Regions from separate parts of the Homo sapiens genome. Here all the other regions are linked to region 1. The links are contacts of gene promoters, found by promoter capture Hi-C in blood cells and fetal thymus (Javierre and others, 2016). All regions are on one chromosome and are shown on one strand. Each heading gives the region's core, a stretch centred on a gene start or on the middle of the fragment in contact. The rest is flanking DNA. Distances are from core to core; before and after follow the strand shown.

What was found. Contacts are between HindIII fragments. The CHiCAGO score rates a contact against its expected background, and 5 or more counts as called.
Region 2: a fragment that was not itself captured here is called in contact with the fragment with the promoter of NFE2L2 in region 1 in 1 of 17 cell types (activated CD4 T cells); the score reaches 5.0 in activated CD4 T cells.
Region 3: a contact is called between a fragment that was not itself captured here and the fragment with the promoter of NFE2L2 in region 1, in 1 of 17 cell types (total CD4 T cells). The highest score is 5.5, in total CD4 T cells.

What each region holds. Positions count from the first base shown.
Region 1 is chr2:177,263,220-177,266,277 of GRCh38, forward strand. It overlaps NFE2L2 (NFE2 like bZIP transcription factor 2), which reads right to left and starts at 1,508. Exons shown (of 5, transcript NM_006164.5): 1 at 1,313-1,508. The coding sequence starts at 1,357. RefSeq lists an enhancer at 1-681 and silencers at 362-521, 782-1,651. The HindIII fragment of the contact is 5,708 bases long and covers 1-2,981 here.
Region 2 is chr2:176,270,626-176,273,683 of GRCh38, forward strand. All of the region lies in intron 1 of MTX2 (metaxin 2), which reads left to right. Among named protein-coding and RNA genes, the nearest start is that of MTX2, 2.7 kb to the left of the region's middle. The HindIII fragment of the contact is 2,998 bases long and covers 148-3,058 here.
Region 3 is chr2:177,780,245-177,783,302 of GRCh38, forward strand. The region is part of intron 9 of PDE11A (phosphodiesterase 11A); the gene reads right to left. Among named protein-coding and RNA genes, the nearest start is that of PDE11A-AS1, 110 kb to the left of the region's middle. The HindIII fragment of the contact is 1,408 bases long and covers 808-2,215 here.

The DNA of each region.
Region 1 (3,058 bases), core at 258-2,757:
AAACGCAAGCGTTCCACTCTCTGCCCCTGCAGAAGAGGGGGAACATGTTAAGAAATTGAGGCAAATTCTCAACTGAAAAGGAAACATATATAAAGTACTCAGGGGAGAAATAATAGCTGAAAGCAAAAAATTACTAACAGACTAAAAGCAACAGAAATTCTAATCTACACTCGCAACTCTTACCCTTGACAGCACAGAAGAGAATATCCCGTCTTACACATTTTGGAATTGCAATTCTGAAACGCTAAATCCAAAGACAAAGCCGCTCTGGGGAAAATAGCAATTGCGCAACAGATCAACAGCTCCAACCTGTCCCTTGGCCCTGGCGCGGCGAGGTTTGCACGCTATAAAGCAGGAAAGGGCCAACCGAGGGCTGCTGTGACGGCCAACCGAGCGCTGTCACGGAAGCCAAGGCCACGCGCGCGGTGAGCGCCACCAGGGGGCACCGCGTCCGAACTAGAAGCCCCGGGTGCCGCCGACTCCGGCCTCAGAGTCCACTGCCCTCGCCCGCACTTTCCCGCGGCGTTACGAGGGGCCAACTCCGGGTGCCCGAGCCCGAACCCCTCCCCGGCCGAGAAAGTGCGCGGGGCCCGGCTCAGCCGCCACACGTCGGGGCTTCTGAGCCCGCTGGGCACTTAAGGCGCTCCTCCCTCGTCCCGGGGCTGGGCTTTCAAGAGAGCTCAAGGCTGCCAGAGAGTGATCCGAGAGATGGATGACTTCGCAAAGCCGCGCCCACAGACGGCCCAGCGGGGTGAGCGCGTCGCAGCCCGCACTCAAGGAGGTCTTGGGGCGCGGCGAAGGGGCTCCGGGTCCCAGCCCGAAGGCGACCTCAGTTCCCCCGAGAGCGGCCCCGTGACTAGGCACATTTTTGCCGGCACCGAGGCGGGGGAGCCGCGCAGCCCCGGAAGGGCCGGGCCGCGCCGGCTCAGACGGCCAGCGTCCGCCCCCTCTTGCCCCGCCGCCCACCGGGCCGCTCAAACTTAGGGGCTCCGGAGTCCCAGCTCTCGGGCCCGGGGACGCGGCTGGATTCTCCCCCAAGGCCCACGCGAGCGGGCTCAGTCCCCAGACCTTCCCGCAACTTCCCACCCGTTCGCCCTCGGGCTCGTGGTCGGTCGGATCACCCGGCCGCGTCCCCGCTGCCCCTCCCCGCCCTGCCCCGGCGCAAGCGCGGCGGCTCTACCCAGCGCCGCGGTCCTGGCTCTGGCCAGACGTGGGGGAAGCCGGTTGCGGCTGTCCCTCCCGGGCCGCGGTTCCCTAGCTCCCCCGCCCCCGTCCCGGCACCACCGCAGGGCCCAGAGGGCCGAGGCAGCACCTGCTGGGACGGGAGTCCCGGCGGCGGCAGCTCCAAGTCCATCATGATGAGCTGTGGACCGTGTGTTGGGGCTCCCCGACGGCGGCCCTGTTCCGGCTGCCGAGGCGCGGCGCGGACAGGGCGGCTCTGGTGGCGGCGGCGGCGGCGGTGGCGGCTGCGTCGGCGGCTCCTCCGGGCTCCCCGGCACTCGGTAATCGGCTACACGCCGGCGGGCCCCTGCCCCGCTCCGCCTCCCGCCCCACAAGGGCGGGGCAAGAGTCCGGGCCCTTCCTTCCCCCGCCGGCCGCGCGGGCTGAGCTTCCGAAAATCCCCCACCCGCGCCGGGGCTGACGCAAGAAGCTCGCGGTCCGGGGGCGGGAAGGGACTGCCAGCTGGGGTCCCAGCAGGCGGGGGACCTAGAGGAGGTCTCCGTTAGCTCCCCGGTGCCGGCGTTCAGTTTGCCCTCCCCCGCAAATAAGGGCAGCGCTCTCGCCCGCGAGATAAAGAGTTGTTTGCGAAGGTCGCTGGAGTTCGGACGCTTTGAAACAGTTTAAACAGTTGGAACAAACACACCCGGAGCCCCGGAAAGGCGTTGGTGTAGGAGCTGCGCCTCCCTGATTTGGAGTTGCAGAACCTTGCCCTGCTTTTATCTCACTTTACCGCCCGAGAATGGCGCCAGCCGGGGTGGGGGGGGCTAAAGATTTGGACCCAGACCGTGCCACTGCCAACTGCCCTCCCGCCCTTGCTCCCTTCCCGGGCTGGGGCCAGTGGGCCCTGCCTAGGGGAGATGTGGACAGCTCCGGCAGCTCGTGTTCGCAGTCACCCTGAACGCCCTCCTCTGAACTCCCACGTGTCTCCATTCTCCTAAGCTCAGGTCGTCAAAGGCAAACGGAGAAGCCCCTTTAGGTCGGAGAGTGGTCAGTATTGCCCACCCAGAGCTGGGAGAAAAACGGGAACCCCAAGAGAACCTCTTCCCACCAAAGCGCAGCCACCACGCCACAGATGGCGCCCTTCAACAGTGTGTAATACCACAACATGCTGTAATCGTTTACTCTTTACAAATTTCTTTTTCACGTACTCACAAAATAGTACAAATTAAAAAAAGTTACAAAAACGTTTGTATAGTATTGGCTCATTTTATAAAAACGTGCCTAGAAAAAAATTGAAGGTTACCAATATATTAAATGCTGTGGAATCAACGATTTTTATGTTTCTCCTTGTTACTTCCAAGTATGCTTTAAATCTGCAGTGCGTATGTTTTATGTCTTACATTAAAAACAATTATTTAAAAATTAATCATTGCCCAGAGAAGACTTCAAGTATTTGAAACGAGGAATATTGTGAACTCTTATAAGGGTTCAAAGAGGATAGATAAATGGTTTAGTTTTGTTTTTTTCTTCCTCTTCTGCATTTACAATCTTTCTAACTCTATACAAGACTGGTTTTCAGTTTCTAGCTTCCTGGAATTATTCAAAACCAGGTGAAGTAGATAATACTGGCAGTGGTTTTGCTATTTCATTCAAAAACCACACACACACCCCTGACTATAGCAATCAACGCCCAAAAAGCTGCAGAGCTTACTTTCTCTAGGTTGCATAATTTGACACTCCCAGGATTTATGTGTAAATTTGTATATTCAGATATTCCTTGAGATAAGTGAAGCCTAAATTAATTACTTGTAATTGAAGCAAGCTTCTTTAACTCCTATTAATTCCTTTCAGCTGTTATGTGAAAACCCTGCAACATGATCTGCACAATGAAAACAAG
Region 2 (3,058 bases), core at 397-2,896, 990 kb before region 1:
TTTGGAAATGGGAAGTACAGAATGTGTCATAAAATTTGCCGGAATGTTTTTCACTGCTTTGCGTTTGTGTGAACGTACATTTCTTTTTTTTCCTTCTTCACTTAAAAACATTATTTTTTAGAGGAGAGAAGCTCCTACTAGATTGCAAGCTTCCTGAAAGTAGGGATCAAACTTGTTTTGTTCCCCATTGTATCCATAGTCAGTTGGTGCTCAATAAATATTTGCGACCCAAATCAATGACTAATCTTGAGATTTCAAGCAATGATTATTTCTGCTTTTACCATTTATGTTGAAACAAAATCAGGCTTATATAGTTAGATCAGCGATTTAATTTAGTTTGCTACTATGTTGAAAAAAAAAACTTCACAGTGTATGTTGAGTGGTTCACTGTGTGCATGTGTCCTAATATGTGATTTCTTTTAATGAGAAAATGATGAATGTCTTTTAATAAACTTTGGATACTGCTTTAAGTAGTGACGTTTAAAAATTTCTAGGCATTTTGTCTGTCTGCCGTCTTAGCTATTTGTAGTGATCTGTTACTCTAGGAGGAAGCATTTAAAAATGGATAATTCAATAAATGGTGTTGGAACAACTACTAAGTCATTACACCACATGAATAAATTCCAGATTGATTAAAGATCTAAATATAAAACAACAAAATTGTAATAAAATAATTAGAGGAAAACATAGATTATTTTAATAATCCTTGGATAGCAGAAGAGGCCTAAGCAAAACTTAAGAATTCATAATCCATAAGAGAAGAAATTGGCAGATTTGATTGCCGAAAAAATTTTAAAACTTTGATAAAAGACATCTCAAGTTAGTACAAATAAGAAGACAAACCAACAGAATCAAGGACAAAGGATTGGAACAGGCATTTCACAAAAGGGTGAAATATAGATGGACAGTGAACAGATGAAAAGATGTTCTCTGTCCCTAATAATGTATAGCATCCTCCCACCCCTGCCATCAGATGGACAAAAGTGAATATGATTTCTAGTACTAATAGGGCATGGGGAAAAGTTACTCTCAAACTATTGGGTCTGTAAGTTAGTATTACTTTTTGGGAACGTAATGTAGCAATATTTATTAAAATGACATTCTCTGGCCTGAAAATTCTACTTATGGGGGTTTATCTGATAGAAATGTAAAGACCAGTACTTAAAGAAATACACAATGATATTAATTGCAGCATTATTTGTAATAGCGAAAAACTAGAAATGTTTTAAATATATGTCAAATTATTGTACACCAATCCACCAATTCCACTTCTGGGCATGTATCCAAAGGAATTGAAATTGTCTAAGAGGTATGTGCAGTCCCATGTTCATTGCAGCAGTATTCACAATAGCCAAGATATGGAAGCAACCCAGGTGTTTATCAGTGGATGAATGGATAAAGAAAATGTATATAAGATACAATGGAATACTATTCAGCCTTAAAAAAGAAGGAAACCCTATCATTTGTGATAAAATGGATGGATCTGGAGGACATTATGCTAAATGAAATAAGCTAGACATAGAAAGACAAGTAGTGATCTAAAATCTAATCTTTTTGGGGAAATCTAAGAAAGTTGATCTCCTAGAAACAGAATAGAAAGGTGGTTACCAGAGGCTGAGGGGGACAGAGGTGAGAGATGGGGAAGAGGAATGGAGAAGAGATGTTGATCAAAGGGAACAAAGTTTGTTAGACTAGAAGAAAAAGTTTTAGTGATCTATTGCACTGCAAGGTGACCACAGTTAATAATAATGTATTATATATTTCAAAATTGCTAAAGGCTTAGATTTATAATTTTCTTACAAAAATTTAAGTTGGTGCGGTGATGGATATATTAATTACCTTGATTTATTCTTTCTATTCTTTGATTTATTTAGTTCAAAATATCACGTTGTACCTCCTAAATGTACAGTTATTATTTGTCAAAAACATTTATACAAAAATTATGGTATGGTCACATTTTTACAGATCCAAAAATGAAGAAGTATATCTGTTAAATACGTTGTCTTGAAAGCTATGGTTATATTAAGTAAAAAGTTATAAAATAATATCTATTTTGTATGAACTCATGAAATCTATATAAACATACATATGTTTATATATGTTAAGAATATTCAACTAATTGTAACTAGCGATTGGGATAATAAAGATAGATTGTTGGTAGAGGGTGGAGGAACTATATTTCTGAATTGTTTGAATTACTATAGTGAGCATAGTTTACTTTTGTAATTTAAATGATTGTAATTGTTAAAATTTATAAGATTATGTTTTGCCAAGAAGTGAAAACAGGAGGCTGCCTTAATCTGTTTTGTGTTGCTATAACAGAATACCACAGACTAGGTAAGTTACAAAGAAAAAAAATTCAAGTCTCACATTTTGGGAGGCAACGAACTCCAGCTTCAAGGTGCCGGTATCTGATGCGAGCCTTTGTGCTGCATTATCCTGTGGCAGAAGGTGGAAAGGCCAGGGAGGGCAAGAGCCAGGGACTGAGAGGGCTGAACTTGCTTTTACAACAACCTACTCTTGGGATAAAGAGATGAATCCATTCATGAGGGTGGAGCCCTCATGATCTAGTCATCTCTTAACAATCCCACCTGTTAATACTGTCAGAATGGTAATTCCATTTCAGCATGAGTTGTGAAGGGGATATTCAGACTATAGCAGTGGTTAAAGTAATAATTTATCGGAAACCCTGTGTTTGACTTGTAAATGACTTATAAATGTGACTCAAATCCAGCAACTATTCACAGTGTTCTGTTTCTGGTAGTACAGGTTGGAGTTATGTATCTATATAGATCTGTTATAACTTAAGTAATTATGAATCTGTTTTTGTAGTTGAGAGCTCTAATTTTTAGTGTATCCAACACTTTGCTTATTACCTTTCCTTCCTGTGGACATGAGCTAACACTGATTATTTCTTTTGGAAACATTTAAAGATATCTGGCATCTCTCTGTGGTATTCTTGAAGTGACTTCTTTGAGATCCTTATTCATAAGGATATCTTTTTAGAAGTCTTCTCTGAACTCCCCAGTTTAAGTGAACTGCTTCTATCTCCTTACTA
Region 3 (3,058 bases), core at 262-2,761, 520 kb after region 1:
TAATTCTTTTATTTTTTATTTTTTAGACAGGGAATCTCACTCTGTCACCCAAACTGGTCTTGAAATCCTGACCTCAAGTGATCCTCCCGCCTCAGCCTCCCAAGTAGCTGGGACTACAGGTGTACACCACCACTTCTGGCTTGATTTAGCATAATTCTTAAGGGCCCGAGGATTTTCAAAATGGTAAATAAGCACTGGCTTCAATTTAAAATCACCAGCAACTTACCATAGCCCCTAACAAGAGAGTCAGCCTGTGCTTTGAAGACATTGACTTCTCCTCTCTAGTTATGAAATTCCTAGATGGCATCTTCTTCCAGTAGAAAGCTGTTTTGTCTGCATTGAAAATCTGTTGTCTACTGTAACAACCTTTATCAATGATCTTAGCTAGATGTTCTGGATAACTTGCTACAGCTTCTACATCAGCACTTGCTGCTTCATCTCACACTTTTATGTTTTGGAGATGGCTTCTTCCCTTAAAGTTCATGAATCTCTGCTAGCTTCAAACTTTTCTTCTGCAACTTCCTCACCTCTCTCAGTCTTCATAGATTTGAAGAGAATTAGGGCCTTGATCTGGATTAGGCTTTGGCTTAAGAGAATGTTGTGGCTCATTTGATCTTTTCTTCAGACCACTAAAACTTTCTCCATATCAGCAAAAAGGCTGTTTCACTTTCTTATTATTCATATGTTCACTGGAACAGCATTTTTAATTTCCTTCAAAAACTTTTCCTTTGCATTTACAACTTGGTTGTTTGGCATAAGAGGCCTAGCTTTCAGCCTATCTCACCTTTTGACATGCCTTTCTCACTAAGCTTAATCATGCCTAGCTTATGATTAAAAGTGATAGATGTGCAACTCTTCCTTTCACTGGAACACTTAGAGGTCATTGTAGGGTTATTACTTGGCCTAATTTCCATATTGATGTGTCTTGGAAAACAGAGAGGCCCAAGGAAAGGGAGAGAGATGGGGAAGAGCTGGTCAGCAGAGCAGTCAGAACACAAAACATTTATCAATTAAGTTTACCGCCTTATATGGGCACAGTTCATAGTGCCCCAAAGGATTACAATAGTAACATTAAAAATCACTGATCACAGATAATTGTAACAGATATAATAAGACGTATAAAATGTTGTAAGAATTACCAAAATGTGACACAAAAACACAAAGTAAACACACACTGCTGCAAAAATGGTGCCAATAGAGTTTGCGGTCAATTTGAGACCTTGCCCATCTTGGCTGAATTCTCAATTTCTTTTTCTTTTCTTTTTTTTTTTTTTGAGACTCTGTCTGTCACTCTGTTCCCCAGGCTGGAGTGTAGTGGCTTGATCTCAGTTCACTGCAGCCTCCATCTGCTGGGTTCAAGAGATTCTCCTGACTCAGCCTCCAAGTAGCTGGGACTACAGGTGCGTGCCACCACACCCAGCTGATTTTTGTAGTTTTAGTAGAGAAGGGGTTTCGCCATGTTGGCCAGGCTGGTCTTGAACTTCTGACCTCAGGTGATCTGCCCGCCTCTGCCTCCCAAAGTGCTGGGATTACAAGTGTGAGCCACCATGTCCAGCTGAATTCTCTTTTAATTAAACTTCTTGACCAAAGAGATATGCCGTTTTTGCTTTTGTTTTATCCAAAGGTATGAAGCCAACTCTCCAGTGGTTTGAGTGGGCCCTCAACTTGGGATGAGAAATTCATTCACCATTTTTTCACCCAAATCAAAGGTTTAATGTAATCATTCTATGTCATTACCCAGATTAAAATGTTAATTTTAGTAACCACACTTTAAATCTCAATCTAATTTTTAAATGCAAGCCATTAAGATGCATTCATAAGGCTAAATACTATTCATTAGCTAGTACATAATGACAACACTGACATTCATTTGGCAGTTTCCCAAACTATCTTTCCCTCTAAATATTGGTACCTGTGCCCTTGCCAGAGGATAACATATCTTGTATTATATAAATCTTGAAATTTAACAGGTACTTTGCAACTACATCCAAATTATTATCTGGTGAATTAAGATGACCACACATTCTTTGACACTATTTCTATGAGAGGTGGGGTCTATGTCCCTTCCCTTTGACTCTATGTGGGGTTTGTGTTTAAACCATTAAGTTGCCAAAAAGTGGTTAAAAAGCAATAAATAAACAAAACATTATCAACATTCAACTGGGACTTGCCACCCTATGCCATCCAAAGATTTCTGTAATCAGGTGTCAACTGAAGCTTCCTTGTCTTTCAAAATCTAGGTAAGATCAACGTGAACCCCTAAACTCATGAAATACTATGGAAATTCAAAGCCTTTTTCAAAATGTCTACATATTCTTGGCAGGTTTATATTCTCATCTTGGCCTTTGAGTTCTTATGTATTCTTGTGCTGTATCTGTTATATAATCATCACACTAAATGTGAAATTCAGCTCCCTCCTCAATTTCCACACCAAAAAAATCCACTCACATCAAGAATTCATAAATTTAGTATAATGTGAAGAAGGTTCTTTCTTTTTTGCTTCCTTCCTTCCCTCTTCCCTTCTTCCCTACTTCCTTCCTTTCTCTTTCTCCCTCCTTTTTCTTCTCTTTCTCTCCCTTTCTTTTCTTTCTTTCCTTCCTCCATCCTTCCCTTCCTTCTTTCTCTATCTCTCCCCTCTCCACTTGCTTTCTGAAAAGACAAATTATGAAGTTGCATCAAAACAAACAAACAAACAAACAAACAAACAAGCACCCTCTCATGAAGTATCAGCTCCACCATTCTCAAAATAGATTTTGCCCCTGCCACCAATGGGGCATTTCACTGACCATTAATCTCGTACAGTCTCAGCCTTTACTCATATTTCTGGCTTCTCTCCAATGTAACTTTCTCTTTTTCTCTTTTCCCCCTCCCTATATTCAAATGTATAATAACACAATTCTCTTCATTTCTCATACAGAATCATTTCCCACATCCTCTGATTACTAGAGGCAGTCAATATTCATTCCCTCATAATCTGTACAATATCAAGAGGGCTTGTCAAGGATTTTCCCATACAACTCCTTCCTTAGTCTTAGTGAGGAATGCTGGGGCCTATGGT